Linked DNA regions of Homo sapiens: region 1 is linked to region 2. The links are contacts of gene promoters, found by promoter capture Hi-C in human tissues and cell types (Jung and others, 2019). All regions are on one chromosome and are shown on one strand. Each heading gives the region's core, a stretch centred on a gene start or on the middle of the fragment in contact. The rest is flanking DNA. Distances are from core to core; before and after follow the strand shown.

Region 1 (5,075 bases), core at 1,205-3,704, 260 kb before region 2:
AAAACTATGAGGTTTTTTGTCTGTCTGTATTTTATGTGTACATGTATATATGGTGTACATTATATGTTGTGTCTGCATATATGTGTACATTATGTGTTGTGTCTGCATATATGTATATGTCTACACATATATTTATATATAGTCTACAAATGGTACCAAATTAACTTAAAGATTAAATGAGTACTCATAATAAATTAACTAGCCCCAGTGCTTTTCACATACATATGCCTTTATTTATCTTTGATAAACCTCATTATAAAATTATTGATAAAATAAAATAGAAACATCTTCAGAAGTTAATTGAGACATTTTTGCCTGGGTCTATAGGTCAGATGGGGTTAAACTGTCTCTGACAGATGTTTTAAGGTCATAAACATTGCTTCTCTATTATTTTTGATACTTGCTTAATTTCTCTGTGAGCTAATGTCTTTGGATTTGAGCCTTTAGATTTTGAGGTCTAGATAAGTGGCCATGGTGAGACCTGGGGATATCTGGGCCCCATCCTCCCTAGTCTAGCTGTGTCTCTTGGCATGCTGAGAGGAATTAGATCCTCCAGGCATTGTCTTCACAGCTCTGTCCTTTGTCCTGAGCTCTACATCTGGTACATACTTAAAATTGCTTACTTCCTAGGTTTTTCACTAAAAATTAGTTACTAAGATTTAGCATTGTGATTAATGTATGTGATTAAAACTACTAGATGTCAAAAAATTCTATATGCAAGGTGTACAAGGAAAGTAGAATGTGTTTTTGGTGATGGGGTTATAAGAAGGCAAGGGAATACGGTTTTTGTTCAAGGAAAAGTAATTTTTGCCCAGTTTAGAAGTTTATAAAAGTTGATTTAAATGGAAAATATTTGTAAATGCTAGATAGAACTAAATGGATATAGAAAGTTGGTAAAGAAAGAGAATGGGAAGAATTGTAAAACATTATAAAAGGTTTATGGAAATCTTACCTTCTGGTCAAAACTGATTGGGATGGGATAGATTTGTTTAAAAGGCTTTATTCAAATTAGCTTTAGTATTAACAATATACTAATGTAAAGGTAAAATTTGGTTTTTCTCCTTTGAACTACATTTTTGTGTTGTATTAACAAGAGATAGTAAAGATTTTTGTTTACCTTTTGAGTAAAATGCAAAAACAAAATAGGAATTTGGAATTTCGATTTTGGAAATTTGGTCAAATATAAAAGATTTAAAACACATGCTCAAAATAGAATCACAGATCACTATAAAATAATAGTCATTTATTTAGCCAAAGTGATACACCTAACTGGGTACAAGGTACCTGGGAGTTTCCTTATTCTATTTAACTTTTTACATTAATCACACTTATTTTAACTATAACAAGTATCGGCTATTCTACACAATTCAAGGTGCAAGGATGTCAATCTTAATAAAATTAATAAAATACAATTAAGTATAGAGCTTATTCAAGCATGAAGCTTTAGGAGAAGCACTGACTCCAAATGAATAGGTCAGTTTTTCCAAAGTGAAGAGGTTAAAGTTTCAATCATATAGGCAGAAACAGAGAAGTTCCAGCAGTATTAAACATTTTTATACTATACCAGGTATACACACCACAGCAATCTGAATGACTATAGATTGATACATTCCAAGGAATATTGCTTTATTATTTCATGAGGAGAGGTAGTGATCTGAGGGGGTCTTATCTCTGGCATCTTAGGTATTAGTTATTTCTAGAAACAGGAGAAAAAAGTGTAGAAGTTTGCAGTTGCATGCCACGAGGCTCAGGATATTTAATGTTCCAGCAGCTTTAGGTTTAATTTACTTTAAGTTTGCATTATTTAATTTCACATTTCCCTCTTTCAATTGAGATCTTTCAAAGACAGCATCATGGATAAACTCAAACAGTTTTGGCTTGAAGGAAATAAAAATATTTTACCCCAAAATATATTTCTTTGAAATATTTTGAGATGGCTGACCAGAGGGCCTGCAGACAGTAGTCCTGTAATGCTGTCTTTTGTGGGCAAGATTTTCGTTTGTAGACAAAATCTGCATTGATGCAGTGAGGACTTCTTTGAAGGCCTTCCCTTGTCTGATCTAGAAAAGATTAACTGAGAGCCTGACACACTTAAAGATCTGAAAGAAACATTTGCCACGTATTCTTTTTGAGATCTGTTACCAGTGAGATTTCATTTACATAACAAGACCATCTTTGCTAGCCAAGCTTCCTCTTCTCTCCCTCCCATAACCTGTCTTGCCACTGTAATCTGATTTACCACCATAATCTGTTTTGGGCCATGCTCTGAGCCCTTTCTGTCACTTCAATCATGATATGTAAGTTTCTGTATTCCTTGAAGAACGGGTAATCACTCTAATTCTTGCCAATGTGCGCATTAATAATAAATTTGTATGCCTTTTCTCTAATTAATCTGCCTTTTGTGAGTTGAGTTTTTCAGTGAACCTTCAGAGAGAAAAAAGAAAAGATTTCTTTTGGCCTTTACAGGCTCTTTTTATGTTCAAGAACTTAGTCCTACATTGCTAGAAAGGCTCATTCACGGAGTGTCGTGTCTTATGGCAGGAGGAATTTATCAAGCTATAAAGTTGATAGGGCATAGGACAAATTTAAAGCAGCATGAGGAAAGTGACTTTGTAACCTGAGACAGGCTACCAGACTACATCTTTAATTAATGCAATTTATTTGAGTAACCATTATTTTAGTTTCTTTAGTTGTATATTGACTCCATTGTGAACAAATGCCACAGCAGCAGTGAAGACAAAAAGAGGACAAAACACAACAAATGATTATAATTCCTAGAATAAGTAAAAGCTTTTTCCACCAGTTTTCTCAGTATCAAAACCAGCTACTTACCCAATCACTTGGAGAGACTGTTGTATCTAAAAGTTTAGTTATTCGGGTTTTTATATCAGCCATTACTTTAGTGATGTTATCTGATTCATCTGGGATACAGGCACAACACTCAGTTTTTATCATTGTGCATGTTCCCTCTTGGGCTGCAGTGAGTATGTCTAAAGCCACACTGTTCTGTATTAGAGCCTTTCTTCATTGTTTCGTAACGAGATACCCATAAGACTATTATTTAGGGCCTTTTTTATATAATTGGTTACGGCCTCTACACACCAAATGAAATCCTCAGTAACCAGTTGCAGGAGAAAGACAGAAGCTAAATGATCACGTCAATAGAATACAGAAAAATTCCAACAAGATTGTAAATGAGGAAGATTTGCAGGTTTTGAAAGGGTACGAACTTAGCCTGGTATCCAGGAATAGCCTCAAAGACACCATCCTAACCATCTTGGGGGTAGCTAAGCCTGTAGATTGATCGTGCACAGCCAAGATGTTTCGTTTAGAGATAACTAATAGATAGTCATGGTACCCATTCAGTGGCACGCCAACCAGTACTTTGTCATATAATGTTGTGGATACACTGTTCTTTGAGTATCTATCCCACATCACTAGTGTTACTGGGCCATGTATCGTTGGTGTGATATTTTTTGTTCCCAACATAAAGGGGTGAGCTAAGTGACCAAAAGAGGGGAAAAGCCATATTAAACCATCCCAAATTTGTTATACTATCACAGAATTCAGTTGTCCTAACTCTCGGTTGTGTTAACACCAGTGAAAAGGCTAACAAACTGGTTTCTTTTACCAAAAAGCTCACCTCATGCCTTTTGCTTTGTGAAGTATTATGAATAGGTCAGTGATGTACATCATCTTTAGTCCTACAAGTGCTAAGCACTGATGACTATTGTAGAAAAACTAATATATTTATAATACTCTATCCAATCTTGTCCTTGGAGAGGAGATATCCACCATGTAGGTCACAAACACTAGAGAGGAGCATGAGGCCACATACCAGCTTTAAAGATTATTTTTTCTTTTGCTTACATCACAAAGATTCACATCCTCTTTTCAGAGATAAACTTTTTTCTCCATAACCAAAATTTTGAATGAGGGAAAAGGTTGTAAAAACTCTAATGAGTCATTTCAAACAAAATCTGATCCTCAAAGAAAAATGAAAACCACAAATGTGCAATTAGCAGGCTCTCTAGAGAATAACAAATGAAATTCCTGTCTCACAGTAGAGCTTTAATACCAATCCCATCAAGTTAAAAATGTGTGTGGCTCAAATACTGTCTGAATCTTCAACCAAACCTGGGAGGATTTGGACCAAGAGGGGCCTTATCAGAGATCCCTGCTGACTTGGGTGAGGTCAGGTGAATGACGTCATTTATGTTGAATGTCACTTTTAAAAAAACTTTCCAAAATCTAAGTAAGAGTTGCCATGATCCCCACTTCTACGTTCCCTGGATTGTCACAAAAACAAACAAAACCTTTTTGCAGGTTAAAGTATCTGTGGAGGGTTGGGGGATCAGGGGAGACCATTGGTAGTCTCACAGAAACAAGTAGGGTCATTTTCTGCTGCTGCTGTCACCACCATATAATGTCATAGGTCCTCTTTGACTTTCCGTTGTCTCTCGACTACTTTAGCCCTAGTGATATCTCAACTACCAAGGCTCATGAGGTCCCATAAAGGAGGGTGAAGTTCCATGAAAGAGATTCTCTTTCTTCTTGTCTAGGCTCCCAAGCCTGGGGCACTAAGTGCCCATTCTTTGAAGAATCCCACCAACCATTTACCCCATGGCCACTTTAGTTTAAAGTCTGTCACCTTAGATGTAATGTACTTAAGTGCTTCAGGATGTTCTTGGAAAAAAAACTCTACGACCTTTGTTTTTTATCTCAATGCTAAGGAGCTATTTCTCTTTTAAGTCCTTAAAAAGATTTTAAATTCCTTAAAAAGATCTTTTAAATCCTTCCCATCTACCATACTTAGAAAATAAATCCAAATTATTTCAAGGAACTTAGGGTCTTCAAAGACTCAGGGAAATTTCTATATTTAACCGTTATCTATTCTTCTCATGTCTTCAGAGGAAATGAACCTGAGAAGAGTATTTCATTTCTCTTATATGCCCAGAAATATTGTTTTATGCATAATCCCAGCATACTTAATAAAAGGATGATTTACAAAGTATAGCAAGTATGTCAAAAAAATCACAAAGTATTTTAGTTATTTATTGCTGTATAACAAATTA
Region 2 (5,452 bases), core at 1,347-3,846:
GTTTAACTATTTGGGCACTCCATGGCCCAGTCAAACTGACACATACAGTTAATCATTATACCATGTTAGTTTGTCTTCTTGTCCACTCAACTTTCTTCTAACTACTGTATAGTATTCCATTGTGTTATATACATGCACAGTTATACTTTATAAAGATGAAAGGGCTGGGCACAGTGGCTCACACCTGTAATCCCAGCACTTTGGGAGGCCGAGGCAGGTGGATCACGAGGTCAGGAGATCAAGACCATCCTGGCTAACATGGTGAAACCCTGTCTCTACTAAAAATACAAAAAATTAGCCAGGCGTGGTGGCAGGCGCCTGTAGTCCCAGCTACTTGGGAGGTTGAGGCAGGAGAATGGCGTGAACCCAGGAGGCAGAACTTGCAGTAAGCCGAGATCGTGCCATTGCACTCCAGCCTGGGCAACAGAAAAAGACTCCATCTCAAAAAAAAAAAAAAAAAAAAAGGAAACAACCATATTTATTATTTTGCTTAATATTATGTTTGTAAGTTCCATTTATGTTATTTTTGGCTACAGATCATTTTCTTATTGCTATATAGTATTTCATTGTGTGACTACATGAAAATTTATTCATCCAGTTGATGGACATTTGGGTGGTTTCCAGTTTGGGATGATTCATTGATTTTGACATCATGAATATTTAGGTTGCTTCTGATACGTTTCTTTAATACTTTGCGAAGGCATCATTTTGCATGACTGCTTGTATAGATACATAAATGTTTCTCTTGGGTGGCCACAGGTTAAACAATGGTCTATCTGGATCATGAATGGAGAGAAAAGGAAACAACCAGAAAGCTCTCTCTCCCCACCTATTCTCTGTCCATGGCATCTGCCACTTTCTCTCACTCTGCCCCTACCACACTGTGACCTAACCAGCTTCTACCTTCTCCCAGGAGTTCCTCACAGATTTTGTCTTATAAACATTTTCTTGAAGTAAAACATACCTACAGAAAAGTGCATATGTTTTAAGTATGTAGTGCAAAGAATTTATGTGAATTGAGCATATGTAAGTAACCCAGATAGAGATGAAAAATTATTAGCATCTAGAAATGGAACAATGCATTAGAGGATATGTAATTCCAGCTTTACTAAATACTGCTGAATTGCTTTTCAAAAATTACCACATCAACTAACTCTCACCAGAAGTAAAGATGTACACCCGTTTCCCTTCAATCTTGTCAGCACTTGGGGATAGCCACACGCTAGCTTTCACTATAATAATAGGTAAACATTCTTACTGGTTTTAGTTATTTTCCTTAATTTTTAATATGGTTGAGCCTATCTTCATACTCATTTGTTAGTTGGAATATGCTGCACTTGTTTTGCTATTGAGTTGTTGTCCTGTTTTGAACCTTTCCTTAAGAGTCCACAGCTTATCCAGTTTTCTACACAACTCACTTCTGTTTGCTGCCCTTCATTATAGACTCAATGCCTTCTCATTGCTAGAGCACTGTGCCCTCCTTGGGGCTCGATGGTTTATAATAAAGCTTCCCCAGGAGATCTCATGGGGGCCAGGTTCTTTAGTGGTGGCCACTAAAGCTACTACCTCTTATTCCAGGTGCCATAAACCAGTGGCTGGACCTGGTTGGTTCACAGAGTGTTCTCAATGTGAGGAATCAGGTATTGTGCTTGGTTGTCATATAAGCAGCTTAGTTCCCATTGTTTTATACCTGGCCTGCTACCCTCATTCATGTTACCTTCATGCCCCATAGACATTTGAGATTTGATGCAAACCAGTCTGTTACAGTAAAAGCACCACTGTCTAGGAAGTTCTGGAGATGGGTTATCAGCTCATTTACATCAGCAGCTGCGGGATCTTGGGCAAGTCATTTCACCTATTGGAGCCACTCTCTGCTAGCATAAAGGAGAACATAAAGATACCTTCCCTGCCTATCTCACAAGGTTGTTTGGGAAACTGAATGAAAGAACGTGTAAATGTGCTTTGCAGGTTTTTTGTGAAACAGGAATAGCTGTTAGTATTCTCGCCTAGCCCTGTCTGTGGTGCCCAGGATGCTGCATTACCTCCTTTCTACCCTCGCCCTGAGTATTGGTCCTAGGTAGAAGCTGAGGTGAATATACTGAAAGCAGTAAGAATCTTCACCAGGCCCCTCCCAGTCATATCACAAGGTGTTGTAGCTTATTGACAAACACAGACCTCATGTTTCTCTGAGAACCGCCCTGTGAACACCTAGATAGAACTAAGGGTGTGAAATACAAACGTACTATTTGCCTACACTTACGGAAATAAGAGCACATGACACAGTAGATGGCAAGGTGAGGCTTTAAGTCAGAAAGCAACCTCAGCTGAAACAAATGCATAATTATAATTTGATTTCAGAAGTGGAAACATGACCCGAATTCATGCACCTACTGATTAGTCCAAATTCCTTTATTGTTGAAGCTGGAGCAGAAGTGGGGGTCCACCGTGGAAGTAAGGAAAAGCAAAACAGAACAGGGGTCTCATCCAGGGAGCCATGTCGATGGCTATGGGGAGCTCCACCTTGCTCTTGGGGTGGGGCCCTGGCCCTGGGTGGGACTGTGGGGTGATGAGGGTTGTGCTATGCTGGCTACCTGGTGGTAATTGCCAAGGAGAGAGCAGCACGTAGATCCTCCCTGTCATCAGGCAGAGCTCTTCAGTGAGGTGGGCTCAGGGAGGGCTCTGTGCCTCCGTTCAGCAGAGCTGCAGCTGCTGCCCAGCTCTCAGGAGGCAAGCTGGACTCCCTCACTCAGCTGCAGGAGCAAGGACAGTGAGGCTCAACCCCGCCTGAGCCATGCCAGCCAACTTCACAGAGGGCAGCTTCGATTCCAGTGGGACCGGGCAGACGCTGGATTCTTCCCCAGTGGCTTGCACTGAAACAGTGACTTTTACTGAAGTGGTGGAAGGAAAGGAATGGGGTTCCTTCTACTACTCCTTTAAGGTAAGTTTCTTGCCTGCGACTCTGAACACTGACTTATAACAATGAGACTGCTGGAACTTAAGAGTGTCAATTGAAGTATCATAGCCAGTATTGTGAATGAGTGTTATTTTCTTTACTAAAAAGGATTTTTAAAAGTCTGAAGTGCTAAAACAACAAGCTGTAGTGTGCAGAGACCTAGATTGTAGTTTCTTAGGAATACAGGTGACGTTTTTCTTTCTGATGCTGCTGGAAATGTGTGAATCGTGAGTAACATTTATGAGTGGATGATTTTTACTTTCCCCCTTTCCTTAGGTGAAAGCACTTTTAATTAATCCTATAGCAGTACTTGAAATGTCTGTTTCTAGTAGGGGTTAGAGCTATGAGTTTTTTGCTAGGAACACCAGAGATGCGGAAAGCTCACAATCCCCAGGACAGTGACTGATATGATGAGAAACAACATTGAATAAGGCAGGAAGGACGACACTTTCTTTGATGATCCTTTTCATTAAACATCAGTGAGGAATATATTTCTTTGAGGGTAGTTGATGATGCCACCATTTGCAACAAATTACCTCCTAGAACAAATGAAGGACAGAGAGTTTGGTGAGTTTCACCTTCAAAGTATCCAAGGGCCACACTGAGGAAGGATCTTCATTAAGCTAATACTGTATTGTTTCTTATTCCGCAACAAGATCTTGTGGACAGAAATGAACCGCACATTTGGGAAAAGAACAGTTTCCTGCTTCTTGCCTCAGAATGCTGGGTTGTCAGGTTATTTCACACCTGTCTAACGATATGTTTAGTCATTGCAATAATTCACAGGTCTCAAACTGGTCCTTTCCACTGAAGAAAAAATACTTCAAAAAGATTCTAGTTGTTGCTTTGTTGGGTTTTGTTGTTGTTGTTGTTGTTAATCCTCTGTATGTTCTTGAAATGATTTGGTTTTTACACAATGAGATAGCATTACTGTAACATCCACCTCCCTACTGGAAGTTCACTTCTTTTGCAAATATTCAGAATAAAACTTTCAGCAGGGTGCTGTCCCAGGAGTCAGACTTAAACTTCCAGGGCCCTAATGATCCTGCAGCAAAGCAGAACCTGAGCAAACTACTCCTCCACTGGCTTCAGTGAAACCCTGTCCCTTGGAATCACCTCCTAATGCATATGCACATACGCAGCCCAGCTGCACAGCTCCACGATGTAGCTTAGAAAGTAAAATTAGAGTTTGTTGCCACTTAATGTCGACTGAATAATCCCCTTTATGAAATCAGCCTGCAGACCCAGAGAGTCTGTCTTGGCAGGCTGTGTGCACCCAGGAAGCACAGGACTCCACTCAGTATTGCTGCCTGTGTAGCCTCTTTGATATTCTTAGAACATGATAGCAAGCAGAATGAAGAGAGGCCCTCCATTGCAAAGGGAATAAAATCAGCAATAAGGTGGTTATTCTGAGACTCTGGCAAGAATCAATCTCAGCTGAAATCTCATTTGCCATTTTTTGAATATAGCACCTACAGGGATATTTGGAATATGTGAAGAAACAAATCCCACCTTGCTCTCTATGAGTGTTTGTCCTCTCTATCCTAGCAACATCATCGCCAGACACTAAAGAGAATCACAGCATCTCTAGCTGATTCCTATTGATATGTTTGCAGCAAAACGGCTGGACCACTGGACAAGGAGAAAAGCAGAAAGACAGGAATTGTGTTTGGCCAGGAGCTTAGAATGCTCAGATTCATTATTTGAGAGATACGTGTATTGACTAAAACCCTGTGATTTTTAGTTACACAGTGATTACTGGTGGTATTTGTGAGAACTTAGCTTATATTTCTTAGTGTAACTTTTTTTCTATGATCCCCTTTGGGCACAAGCAATTCTAATGCATTGTTGATACAGAAATAGTTCCAATGCAAGCCCTTGTTCACTGCAATTCATTTTATCTGACATACTTCTAGAGAAGAAATTCGAAACCATGCTCCCTTTACTGTCTCCCAGATGTATCCCCTTTAATCCCCATTGCCTTCATCAAAAGCAGTAAAAAAAATAGCATGAAAATAAAAATAGCAGCAGCAGTAAAAGTCACAGAAATAACAGCAACAACCATACGTCTCATTTACTTTGGGCATTCTTGGTGCCAAGAGTCATAGCAAGACTCACTTAGCAAGTGACTTCTGTGAAGTATCTCATTTAATTCTCACAATCCATGGTGTATCTTTCCTTCCGGTCCTGCCTTCCATCTTCATCTGTTTATCTCAATTTTACCCAGTCTATAAAGCTCAGCTTGGGTTGCTTCCTCCATGAAGCCCTCCTTGACTCATCCCTCCCTGACTCATCCCTCCCTGAGCTTCATTAGTGTCACGGACTGTACCTCTCTTCTTGCCACTTAATGCAGTTCTGTCTTAAACTGCTATTTCCATATGTGTTGGCTGAATGTGTTACAGTCCTCAAGCTCCTTGAGTAAAATGAATGCCTTATATTTGTTTCATATTTTCTCCCAGGACCTACCACTATGTTAGTCATACTCAATAAACATTGACT

The links. Contacts are between HindIII fragments. The study calls those that stand out against the background at their distance.
Region 1: a contact is called between a fragment that was not itself captured here and the fragment with the promoter of NPSR1 in region 2, in 3 of the 25 tissues and cell types used here (H1 embryonic stem cells, bladder and neural progenitor cells).

What each region holds. Positions count from the first base shown.
Region 1 is chr7:34,392,670-34,397,744 of GRCh38, forward strand. The region is part of intron 3 of NPSR1-AS1 (NPSR1 antisense RNA 1); the gene reads right to left. Among named protein-coding and RNA genes, the nearest start is that of NPSR1, 260 kb to the right of the region's middle. The HindIII fragment of the contact is 5,164 bases long and covers 1-5,036 here.
Region 2 is chr7:34,655,622-34,661,073 of GRCh38, forward strand. NPSR1 (neuropeptide S receptor 1) reads left to right here and starts at 2,597. Exons shown (of 9, transcript NM_207172.2): 1 at 2,597-2,938. The coding sequence starts at 2,792. All of the region lies in intron 2 of NPSR1-AS1 (NPSR1 antisense RNA 1), which reads right to left. RefSeq lists an enhancer at 4,636-5,452. The HindIII fragment of the contact is 11,658 bases long and covers 203-5,452 here.